Linked DNA regions of Homo sapiens: region 1 is linked to region 2. The links are contacts of gene promoters, found by promoter capture Hi-C in human tissues and cell types (Jung and others, 2019). All regions are on one chromosome and are shown on one strand. Each heading gives the region's core, a stretch centred on a gene start or on the middle of the fragment in contact. The rest is flanking DNA. Distances are from core to core; before and after follow the strand shown.

Region 1 (6,157 bases), core at 1,468-3,967, 220 kb after region 2:
GTAGGATTATATATCACTTTTCATTTAATATTTTTAAAATAAATTTTTAGTTTTCTATAAGAAACTTTTGTTTCCACACTTTCTAATCCCTTATAATGATCTGTTTGTTTTGATTTCAGTATCACATTGTTTCAATTATTGTAGCTTCACAATAAATAAATGTTTTTTGGTTTTTATTATTTTAAATTGATACAGAATAATTGTACATATGGGGTAGAGGGTGATATTTTGATTCACAATACATACATTTTAATATAAAACAAAGCCATTATCAATTTTATTCCAAAACTTTCTTGGCTATTTGTATAAACATTCTTTCTTCAGATAAACTTCAGTCAGTTTTTTAAGTTCCAAAACAAAAAAATCTCTCTATGATTTGTGTTAGGATGGCATTAAAATTGTAGATTAATAGGAGAAGAAATACTTCTTTATAAAATTTGATCTCTTTATTTAAATATTTTATTAAACTATGTGAAACTTCATAAATTTTATATAGGATTTACATGTGATTTTTTAAATTGGGTTGATAACCATTGATTCAATACATATTTGTTGAGCATCTACTATGTTCCCATCACTGTGTTAGCCTCTACTGAGCAAAACCAGAAATGACCCTTCTTCTACAAAGACATTATAGTTCCCTGTGGGAAAACTGATAGCAATCAAAGTACACAAAGAAACATAAACCAACAACAGTGTGAGAGCTACACATGACAGCACAGTCAGAAGATATGGCCTGGTCAGTTTCCCGAGGACGTGAATAACACCAGCTAACACATAGTTACCGTGTACAGGCAACCTTAGAATCCCCATTTCAAAGATGAGGAAAATGAGCCCGAGGAACCTGCAGTAATCATCCTGACGCTACCCTCTAGCAAAGCAGTGGAGGGAGGATCTGAACCTAGGCAGTCTGGTTCTGGAGTCTGTGCTCTTAGCCATGAATAAGTGAATGGGGACCTGAGGGAAATTATGGATTTCACCATGGGAGGCTATGGCACCGGGAGAGCAGTCAGGCAGAAATACCAGCACATGGTAAATCCTTTGTCCAACTGCCTAGTGCTGAATATTTTATCTGCCCACATTACTGAACTCTTTACAGCCCTATTAATGTCTCCATTTAGTCAGCTGGTAACTGTATTATCTGCACGTAATTTTATCAAGGTCTTTTAAAATATTTATATTAATTTAGCACCTTATTATACTAGATGAAACTTCCAAAAAGTACTCAATAACGCCACTGATTAACAGGCACCCCTGCTTATTCCTGACATTAATACTTCATTTAATAACTGAGATTTCATCAACTTTTGATGATAAAACTTTTTCACCTAACATTTATCAACATCCAGTGGAAAGCTGCTCTGTGTCAGCTATGGGTTGAGACTGATGTACTTCACCATATAAAAGAAGTATTTTCCTATTCTATTTTTTTTTTTACCAGAAACTTTAAATCAGGAGAGCTTGCTGACCTTTATCAAGCACTTTTGAAATTTATTTAAGATGTTTCTATGATTTTTCTCCTTTGGCCTATTAACAAACTAATTTAATTTTTTCAAGTTGAACCATCTGTGTACTTCTAAAACAAACTCTGATTGAGGTAGATCATTCTTTTAATTGCTTGCTAATATTTTACTTAAAATTTTTATAACTATGTATGTATCTTCTAAGGTTGCAATAGAAAAATAGTTGCTAGAGTTATAACTATAGTTGTGTGGAACAGGAGGTTAAATTTGTTCTTCGATCTTAAAATATTTAACTCACTATGGCTTTAATTACTTTACTATCATAAATGATTATATTAAAGGATAACTACTTAATATAATAAATAATTACAGCCCAACCAGCTGTACATAAATAGTATAAATTTCCTTGGATAGGAAAAGCATTAGTTTTCTTCCTTGCTTACGTCGTACAAGTAAAGTTAGTGCTGATTACTATAGAAACTGTGTGAAAACGCATCACAGAATTCTATCTTGTTCTTCTACATCATCTCTGGACATTTCTTCACTGCTTCAGAGTTTAATGTCTTAGCAGAGATTTCTGCACAGTTGCCTCTTAAGTTCTCATGGCCTCTGGAGCTCTGCGCATGCCTCTCATTCACAACTGACACTTGCACCTGCTCCCTCTTTCTGTAGTCACCTCATCAGGCTTATCTATTTTATTCTTCTTTTTTTTATCACTTAAGAATTTGTTTTCCTATGGTGGTGGGGGGGGGGCCTTTTTGTTTTATTGTGGTTAAAAAAAAAACACACATCACATAAAAGCAATCGCCTTAGCCATTTTTAGTTTGTATGGTTCAGTAGTATTAGGTATATGCACACTGACCTCCAGAACTTCTTAATCATTCTTTTTTTAAAAAAACAACCCGGGTCTATTTCTCAATTCCACTGCTGCTTTATTTCTAATTCATTTATACCAGCTTTGCTGTATTAGGCCTTCTAATTTCCCTTATTACCTCTTCTCGCAGCTCAAGTTCAGCATCTAGTTCATTTATTCCCTTTCTTCTTAGCATTAAACTAAGAAGGCAGGATGAGTTTAAGCAGGAGGCGACATCACTAACAGGTGTCTAAGGAGAGAAGGGGCAAGTAGAGCAGGGGGCAGGTGGGAGGCCATGGCCAGTTAAAATGAGCAAAGTCTGAATGGAGGCAGCAGCCATCGGGTTGAAATAGAGGGTCACGGTCTAAAGGATACAGCAAGTAAAAAGGAGAGGGCCTTGAGGAAGAATTAGGCACAGAAAGAGGGAAAAGACACAGGTTTCCAGTTTGTGCAATGAGGGAAGAAGTGGTGCCATCAACGGAAACAAGGAGTTTAAGAGGAAGAGAGGTTTTAGAGGGAAGTCAAGAGCTAACTTTGGGCTTGAGTCAAGTGATTACGCTGGAAGCTCTCTAGCATGTAGTTAAGAAAGTCCAGAGAAAGGTAAATACTACAGATATGGATGTGATGATTTGATAATCATTAACTTATGGTGGATGATAAGCTGAGACTGTAAGTACAGTCTCTAAGAAAGCTTAGGGGGCTGGGTGCGGTGGCTCACGCCTGTAATCCCAGCACTTTGGGAGGCTGAGGTGGGCGGATCACGAGGTCAGGAGATCGAGACCACGGTGAAACCCCGTCTCTACTAAAAATACAAAAACCTAGCCGGGTGCAGTGGCAGGCGCCTGTAGTCCCAGCTATCCGAGAGGCTGAGGCAGGAGAATGGCGTGAACCTGGGAGGCGAAGCTTGCAGTGAGCCGAGATTGCGCCACTGCACTCCAGCCTGGGTGACAAAGCGACACTCCATCTCAAAAAAAGAAAAGAAAAGAAAAGAAAAAGAAAGCTTAAGAAGCTTACGTTTAATAAGAGAAGAGTTGACCTGGTGAAGATGAGTATTTAAGAGATAGTGGGAGAATCAACTTAGCAATTTATCTTTTGTTAAAAGAACTATCCATTTCTTTGAAAGGTTCTACATCTGGGCCATAAAGCTGGATACAGTTATTATAATGATTTTCATATTTATTATACTTGCTTATTCCTCAAGCCAAATACTTGTTTCTGCTCATTTTTCTTGATTAGGCTTGCTAGATAACTGTCTAATCTTAAGCAGTATTTTCAAAGAACTAGGTCTTATATTTAATTCTAGTATTTCTCTGACTTCAAACTTAATTAATTAGTTTGAAGGCAATGTAACAGTGGCTCAGGGCAGGGCTATGGAGTCAGACTAACCCAGATTAGATGCTTCCCTGACTGTTTGACTTAGAGCAAGTCCTTTAGTACGTCTTAGCCTCAGCTCCTTCATCTGCAAAATAGAAATAACCACCCCCAGATACCTTCACAGGGCTACTGTGAAGAATAAAGGGTATAAAGCCCTGTGCACAGAAAAGGATTGTTAAATGTTAGTATAGGCTTATAGGCTAAAATCGCAGTGTTTTTTTGTTAAATTTTTCTATCTGCTTTCTTTAAGCTTATCTTGGCCTTCACAGTACTTCCCAGCTTCCAAATACCTTCATAAACCTCATTTCTTTTGATTCTCCATCCTCCAAGGTAGATACAAGGCACACTGTGCCCACTGTACACATGGGGAAATAAACTCAATGTTAATGAACATGTTTAAGGTCACAAAACAAAGACATAGCACAGCCGGGTCTTGCCACAGCAATGAAGAACATGGTACATTTGTCACAACTCCTTCTGCCAATGCTGGGTCCTAGTAATGAACAGTTTAGGTATAGCAGTGTCTTGAAACTTCTTTCCTCTCCTCCTAAACCTCACACACAACTGACCTTAAGAAGAGCAGTTTCAGCACATTGACGAGGACAAAAGCTAACCATAGAAGGTCCAAGAGAGAGTGGAGTGGTGGAGGCAGTCCATATGAACATCTCCTTTGAGGAATTCTGCTGTAAAAGGAGGCAGAGGGATGGGGCAGTGGCTGGAGGGGTGTGTGGTCATCTTAGTTGCTTGTATTTTCAGGATGGTAGTTTTATTAAGACCATCTGTATGCTGACGGAAGACAAGAGGAAATGAGAGCCAGTGAACAGAGAGCTGAACTAGGCAGAGGCACCGGCCACTCATCCACCACAACAGGACAGAAGGCAAAATCTACCAGTCCATCTGCGGGCAGGCCAGTAGCTGGGGTGGTGGGGAGCAAGGAAGTTGTTTTCTCACTGCTTCTTAGTCAAATAAGATGACAGTCGTCACCTCCAAGGAAGGAGAGAAGGTGGCATTGGCAGTAGCATGTATTTCTCACACATCCATGTGTGTGAGAAAACTGACTGAAAGCTTATAAGTGGCAAACCCATGGCCAATTTATAAGGAAATCAACAGCTGCTGGGTAGCACTTATCACTCGACCACCTAGTTATAACAGACAGCACACTGAGCTACTTGAAAATAAGGATGACTGGGCTTTTCCCTTGGATGAGCTACAACTTAAAAGTAGAGTGCCAGATATTTATTGACAATCCTAACCCCAGGTATAGGGTAAACCTGCGAAGAGAAGACAGAATTCTTGTGGCTGAAAGAACTACCTGAAGGCCAGGTGGCTGTGTGGTATCAACTTGTAGTGCCTTTTGCTTTTATCAATTTCTGCACTTATAAGACAACCACAGGTGGCCAGGCGCGGTGGCTCATGCCTATAATGCCAGCACTTTGGGAGGCCGAGGCAGGCGGATCACGAGGTCAGGAGATCGAGACCATCCTGGCTAACATGGTGGAACCCTGTCTCTATTAAAAATACAAAAAAATTAGCCGGGCGTGGTGGCGGGCGCCTGTAGTCCCAGCTACTCGGGAGGCTGAGGCAGGAGAATGGCATGGACCCAGGAGGCAGAGCTTGCAGTGAGCCGAGATTGCACCACTGCACTCCAGCCTGGGCAACAGAGCAAGACTCCATCTCAAAAAAAAAAAAAAAAAAAAAGACAACCACAGTTGACATCATATACTGCATTGCTCAATGGCCCCGAAATATGGTCCCAAGTGGTAAATTCCTTTGAGAGTGTAATAACAGGAAAAATGCTCTGAAGAATTTATATGCTTCATTTAATGAAATGAAATATTCATCGGTACCTGAGATGTATTATCGTAAAGCAAATTGAAAATAGACACTGCCTGCTGATTATTAAATTATAAAGTAAACATATAATTAATCCATAGGAACTAAGGATCCACAAAAGCCATCTTAAAGAGACAGAAGTTTTTTGTTTTTTAACAAAGCTTGAATGTAATAGGATCAAAGGTATCTTAACCCACATACAAATATAAACATATGTAAAGAATCAAAAGAAAAGGAATTCACTGCACGGGATGGAAAAACAGGCACAGTAGCAAATTACATGGAACAGAACAGAAGAAGGATGCCTTAACCAACAAAACAGGCCTTCCCCACAAAGGCCAGTTACTTAGCATAAGGTTATAAACTAGATTGAAGATGCATCAGATGCTCAAAGTGACACATACTTTTAAGAGCTAAAAGCTTTCTCATAAGCCCACACATACTGGCAGACAACATCAACTCCACAGGGAATGCTGAAACAGAGCTAGGCACTGACATGAAAAGATTAGTGACAAGGGAACACAGAGTCACTGAGAACATTGCAAACACCAGCAGGGAAGAGTTGCAAGAGAAGACAACTGGTCTTCTTGTGCAGAGGTGGTCCTGAGATGCACCAACTGATTCCTAAGTGAGA
Region 2 (5,937 bases), core at 486-2,985:
CAATCCCATTCATGAGGGCTCCACTCTTCTGACCTAATCACCCCTTAGAGGCCCCACTTTCTAATACCATTACCTTGCAGGGTATGGGTTCAACATACAAATTTTGGCGGGGTCGGGGGGGTGGTGCGGAATACAAGCAATCAGGCCATAGCAGAGTAAAACCCAAATATCCCCAACTCTAATGTCTAGACCTCCCCTGTAAAACCATATGCAGGATCTACTAGACAGAACGTGTGTCAGACTGAGTGCACACTCCTGGGAACTGTGAGCTTATATAAAAATTCACATCATGGCCTTTTAACTGTACCCATTAACTCAAGACCCCTTGTCTCCAAACCTCAACTTTGACTAGTTAGAGAATCACACAGAAATCATTATAAAGTGCTTAGAACATCAGAGTTTTCACGTGGTGACTAATACTTTTATTGACTTATTTTTATTGATACATAATATTTGTACGTATTGATGGGGTACATGTGCTATTTTGTTACATGTGCAGAATGTGTGATATCGAGTTGGGGTATTTAGGCTATCTATCCCCTCCAGTATTTATCATTTCTTTTCTTCTTTCCTTCTCTCTCTCTCTTTTCTTTCTCTCTCTCTCTCTTTTTTCTTTTTTTTTTTTTTTTTTTTTTGACAGAGTCTCTCTCTGTCACCCAGGCTAGAGGGCAGTGGCACGACCTCAGTTCACTGCAACCTCCACCTCCCAGGTTCAAGGGATTCTCCTGCCTCAGCCTCCCAAGTAGCTGGGATTACAAGCATCCGCCACCACACCGGGCTAATTTTTTGTATTTTTAGTAGAGACAGGGTTTCATGATGTTGGCCAGACTGGTCTTGATCTCCTGACCTCGGGTGATCAACCCTCCTCGGCCTCCCAAAGTGCTGGGATTACAGGTGTGAGCCACCACACCCAGCCTGTATAATCATTTCTATGGGCAAACACATTTATCAAACCACCTCCATCCTCTAACATTTGTTTTTTCTCAGACGTGAGATCCTATTTGTAGGACTATAACAACAAGGAACTTTATTAATATGATGTCTAGAGAATGAAAGAGGCACATGTGCCCTAGAGGAAGAGCCGATGTCCTCTGTGAGTTCTCCTCTATCAGGGGTCAGGTTGGATGAAATCTAACCCCCACCTGCCTTTGTAAATAAAGTTTTATTGGAACACAGCCACACCCATTCATCTGTGTCACATCTACGGCTGCTTTGTCACTACAACAGCAAAGTTGAGTAGTTGCAGCACAGACTTTGCGTGGCCCACAAAGCTGAAAATATTCATGGTCTGGGCCTTTACAGAAAAGGTTTGCTGACCCCAGTGCTGAATCACTATGGGATTGCCTGTGCAGGAGCTGTGCCAGCTGTGTTCACATAATGCATCCTGCTTTCATTCACCAACCTCCCTTCCGACTACAAAACTCTGCCATTCTCTGATGCAGGAGATGGGACTCAAGACCACACCGTGCACTTCTCCGTAAAGCCACCTCCTGGACCAGTTGGGTTTCTTGCTCCTTTTCCTTCTGAAGCAATCCTCTCTCTCCCATGAGGCCCCCTGAGCGCACTAAGCAGAGGTGCCGCCTCTGAGTGGAATGTGCCAGGCCCCAGAGCTGCCTCTGAGTCTGCAGGAGTGCAGAGTGGGCAGAGGGCTCTCTCTGCTGTTTTCCATCAGGGCGTGTCCCATCTCAGTCTAACAGGGAGGTGCCCAGAAAATAGGTGGAGGTGAGGGCCACTCAGCCCAGTGGCCCTCTGAGCTGTTCCTTCTTGACCGGCACACACAGCTCGCTTCTTCACTTTCTTTTCCATCCACTGCCGGACCCAAGCCAGCCTTCCAGGGAGCAGCCATGCCTTACCTCTACCGGGCCCCAGGGCCTCAGGCACACCCGGTTCCCAAGGACGCCCGGATCACCCACTCCTCAGGCCAGAGCTTTGAGCAAATGAGGCAGGAGTGCCTGCAGAGAGGCACCCTGTTTGAGGATGCAGACTTCCCAGCCAGCAATTCCTCCCTGTTCTACAGTGAGAGGCCGCAGATCCCCTTTGTGTGGAAACGACCAGGGGTGAGTGGGGCGAGCAGGGGAAGGAGCATAGATGAGGCCGAGGTTCAGCAGCCCCCGCAGGAAGTGGAAACAGGGGTGCTGGGGAGGGGCCGGCTACGCTCAGTGCAACTGAGGTGCATCATCCCAGTCTACCGTGGAAAGCTTTGCAGTTTGGAGGCAGAAAATAATGTACAGGCCTGGGATGCTCTGCGGTGGGGACCCGGGGCATCTGGTTGTACCCGCTCCCCGGCTCCAAGCTGTCTGACTCCCACCGAGGCTGAGGACCTGGAGTCAGAGTGGGTCTTGTCAGCAGGTGATAGGCACGAATCAAAACCTTATCCACAAGGACAGGCCCCCACCCTGTGTGTGGTAACACTGAGATCACGTTATGCACAGTGTTCTGTGGCTTCTGGCCCAGAGCTGAGGGTGCTCAGTGTGGATGGATGTTTGGCTCAGCAAGGTCTCAGCAACCGGGTGACAGATGGAATACAAGGGAAGCAGGAATCTTCTCCCGAGAACCATGCACCCCCCATTCCCAGAGATCAGGGTGAACAGTGCCCCACCTCTGACAGTCTGGAGGTGTCGTCCCAAGAGGCACCAGCTGGTCACTGGGTCCCAAGAGGTGCTAGCTTGTGCCTGGGACGCCATGTCAATATTTGCGGTGCTGGATTAGTCAGGGCTCTACCTCTGACCCGGCGCCAGCTGGGCTGGCTTCCATTCCCTCCAGGTGGGTACGGGCCTGGGAGTGGCTCCTGTGGGGTCCGGTTGCTTTTGGGCAAGGAGGGGCAGTACAAGGGATGCTGGTCCTACAAGTGAGATCCTGAGTGCCTGTCTTATCCTGACAATTTGTCTCATGCATATAGTCATATCACTTCATTTCCCTGAGCCTCAGTCTCCTCACCTGTAAAATGGGAACAATAATGGCTAATGCAGGCCAATGTCTAGCACACAGAAGGTTTCCAGTACATTACAGCTATTGTCACATTATTACTATTACTGATACTATTATTATCATCATTACAATGATTATTAGCTCTGAGTCTCATCTTACATATGAGTAGCAAAGGACTCATCATAACTACCTCCTCACTATCTCCCAACATTAAAATAATGTTGATGATTAAAAACAATTTTTTTTAACGCACATTCACAAAACTTCTGGGCTCTTCAGGGGCAGGGCCAAAGTGAACCTAAGTGGGTGTTTCCGAAGTGGTAAGGGTTTTATTGCTATTTCCTGCAGTAGGCAGTGTGGGGTGTATGTGTGTGCACGCACTTGTGTGTGTAGGAATTTGACTGTGTATGTGCATGTGTGTGACTGTGTGCACATGTGTGTGGATATGCATAGGCGTGTATGTGGGGGGTGGGTGACTGCATGCATAGGCACACAGGTGCTTTGATCTTCACCTGCCAGGTAATTGATCCCACAAGGTGCCATGTTCATGGGGAAATCACAGTGAGCATTCAGTGGCCCTATCGGAGTTGGGGTGAAAGCTCCCAGGCACCTTCCTCACCGAAGCCACGCTGTGATTGTTTTTGGTTCTCTGCATATGGCCAATTGCAGTGTGAGGTCACGGCACTGGCAGATCACGTGGGGTTGCACTTTACAGACAGGATTAGTAGGTCATGCTCTGCTAAGTAAGAAAAAGGACATTTCCAAACTAAAAAAGCAGAAGTTACAAGACATAAAAGAGTGACCCTCTGAGGGGCACCGCCCACGACCATTAGGTCTCCCTGGGCTTATTTCCGGCCTCGGCGCATGAACAAATGGGCGCGTGGGCAGCTGCCCAGGCTGCAGGCTGTGGGTGCATTTTTAACTGTGGGCAGAGATTTCCCTGCAGTTGATGTCAGGAGCCCTGGGAAATAGAGTTAGAGAAATTGATTTCCTGGGCCCCTGGTGAGCAGAGCCCCTGGCCAGAAGCAGCGGCTCTTTCTGTTTGATCCAGGGTTTCATACAGATGCTCATGTTCTCTACAGGCACTTGATATGAAAAGGTTGGAAGCACTTTTTCTCTTCCTTAAAATGGGGACAATAATGCAACTTATGGGGTCCTCATGAGGGTCAGCTGCGTTACCATGAGTAGAGCACTTAGCAAAGAGCCTGGTGTGTAAAGAATCAGTGCTGGTCCTTGTTATTTCTACTGCTGTCATTGTAACCTAACACCATCGTCTCCTGACTCTAGGAGGGCCCCCATCCTTGCAGTCTATATTGACATCATCTAGTTTAAAGTGTAATCTGTACTCTACAACTCACTTACTTTTTGTCAAAGTTAGAATTCTCCAAGATAAAAGCTGGACGCACAAACCAGCATGGAGGGCATCTTTGTCTCCCCCTTCAGAAGTCTCCCCTCCTGGGACCAGGGCCACCAAGGCCTGCCCAGCGACTCTAGAGTCCCAGATCTCTGCTCCAAGGGGCTGTCTTCCTTAGTATTATCTCCTCTGGCATTGCCCCAAACGCTGGGTGAGGCCTTCATCCACAGGCCAGGGCCCTTGATACACACAAGCCCCTGCCAAGATGCACCCCGACCTGCCACCCAGCCCATGCCCCTGTACCAGCCCTCTGTCCCTTCTTCATCCCACTGTCTCCACCTACGGCAGACCCTTTATTGATCTTAACCCAGGTCTACTGTGTTGCTGTCGTTCCCACAGACTCATTTTCAGAATCTGTTCTGCCTTTTCCTTTGTCTGCAACTGAAGATTGTCCCTTTGGTCTGGTCCTCATTCTCGTACCCCTATCTGTTTCTTATTTAGGGGAGTTAGAAGCTTTACATCATATCTTACAGATTTCTGTAAAATCAGGAACAAAAGGGCTGAGGATGAGCATGGAGACTCTTCTTGCAGCATAGAGTCGCAGGGAGCCGGGGGGTAGCGGGCCATAGGGAAATCACAAGCATTGCCAGGTTCCCTGCAGACCTCTGTGGCTTGGGCATCATTTGCAGTGGGACTCAGCATTACACGGTGCACATCTCAGCAGCCCGTGGGACCGTGGGGCTGGACGGCCCTCCTCCTCAGCACCACCTTCTTGTCAAACACAGCTGTACTTGGGGAGGGTGGGCAGAGCACAAAGCCAAGGGGACATTGGAGGGCAGTGGACAGCCAGGCTTGCCCTCAAGGGAGCCCAGGGCAAGGAGTGCACTGAGGGTGACTCAGGGAACTGGCTGGGAGGGGCTGGGAGGCAGAGAGGGTGATAGGCTCAACCTGGAGAGAAGGTGAGATCACCCCCAGGTCTCATGCAAGGGACTGTGGACCTGAGTGGAAGTGGGTGCACAGAAAGAGGAGGAGGGAGTATCGGGTGAGGTCTCCCAGCCTGATGGGGAACAGCCACCATGCAGTCCATCCCTCCTTGTCTGCCTGTACCCATTTATTTTTGGCCAGGCAATTCCCCCCCACCAATTCTCAGTGTAAATCCAGGACACCTCCCCGAAAGTGCCCACACCCCTCTAGCCCATGTGAACAACCCCTGTGGCAGACCTGTGCACAGCGTGGCATGTGACCACAGCCTCTCCTGCACGGTGAGCTTGCCGTTCCCTGTGCTGCTCCCCTGACCCCCAGGAGGGGTTGTCAGTTGTTCTGGGACAGCCCCAAAGGCCCCATGGCCTCCACAGTGCTGGGCACATGACAGGGATCGGCACATAGCTATGAACAGCAGCGTCTGGCATCTCCAGACCTTGCTGGAAATGTGGCTTTTCTTCACTGGAAGGCCATGTGAAAGACAGAATGAATGAAAAAGAAAGAGAGAAAGAAAGAGAAAAAGAGAGAAGGAGAGGAAGAGAGAGAGGGAAAGGGAAGGAAGGGAAGGGAGGAAGGGAGGAAGGAAGGAAAGAAGGAAGGAAGGAGAGAAAGAGAAAGAAAGATAGAAAAAAAGAAAGGAAGAAGAGAAAGAAAGAAAGAAGAAAGAAACAAAG

What was found. Contacts are between HindIII fragments. The study calls those that stand out against the background at their distance.
Region 1: a contact is called between a fragment that was not itself captured here and the fragment with the promoter of CAPN9 in region 2, in 1 of the 25 tissues and cell types used here (stomach).

The regions. Positions count from the first base shown.
Region 1 is chr1:230,965,979-230,972,135 of GRCh38, forward strand. The region is part of intron 1 of TTC13 (tetratricopeptide repeat domain 13); the gene reads right to left. Among named protein-coding and RNA genes, the nearest start is that of TTC13, 9.8 kb to the right of the region's middle. The HindIII fragment of the contact is 3,259 bases long and covers 1,089-4,347 here.
Region 2 is chr1:230,745,653-230,751,589 of GRCh38, forward strand. CAPN9 (calpain 9) reads left to right here and starts at 1,736. Exons shown (of 20, transcript NM_006615.3): 1 at 1,736-2,057. The coding sequence starts at 1,845. RefSeq lists an enhancer at 5,041-5,937. The HindIII fragment of the contact is 9,202 bases long and covers 1-3,496 here.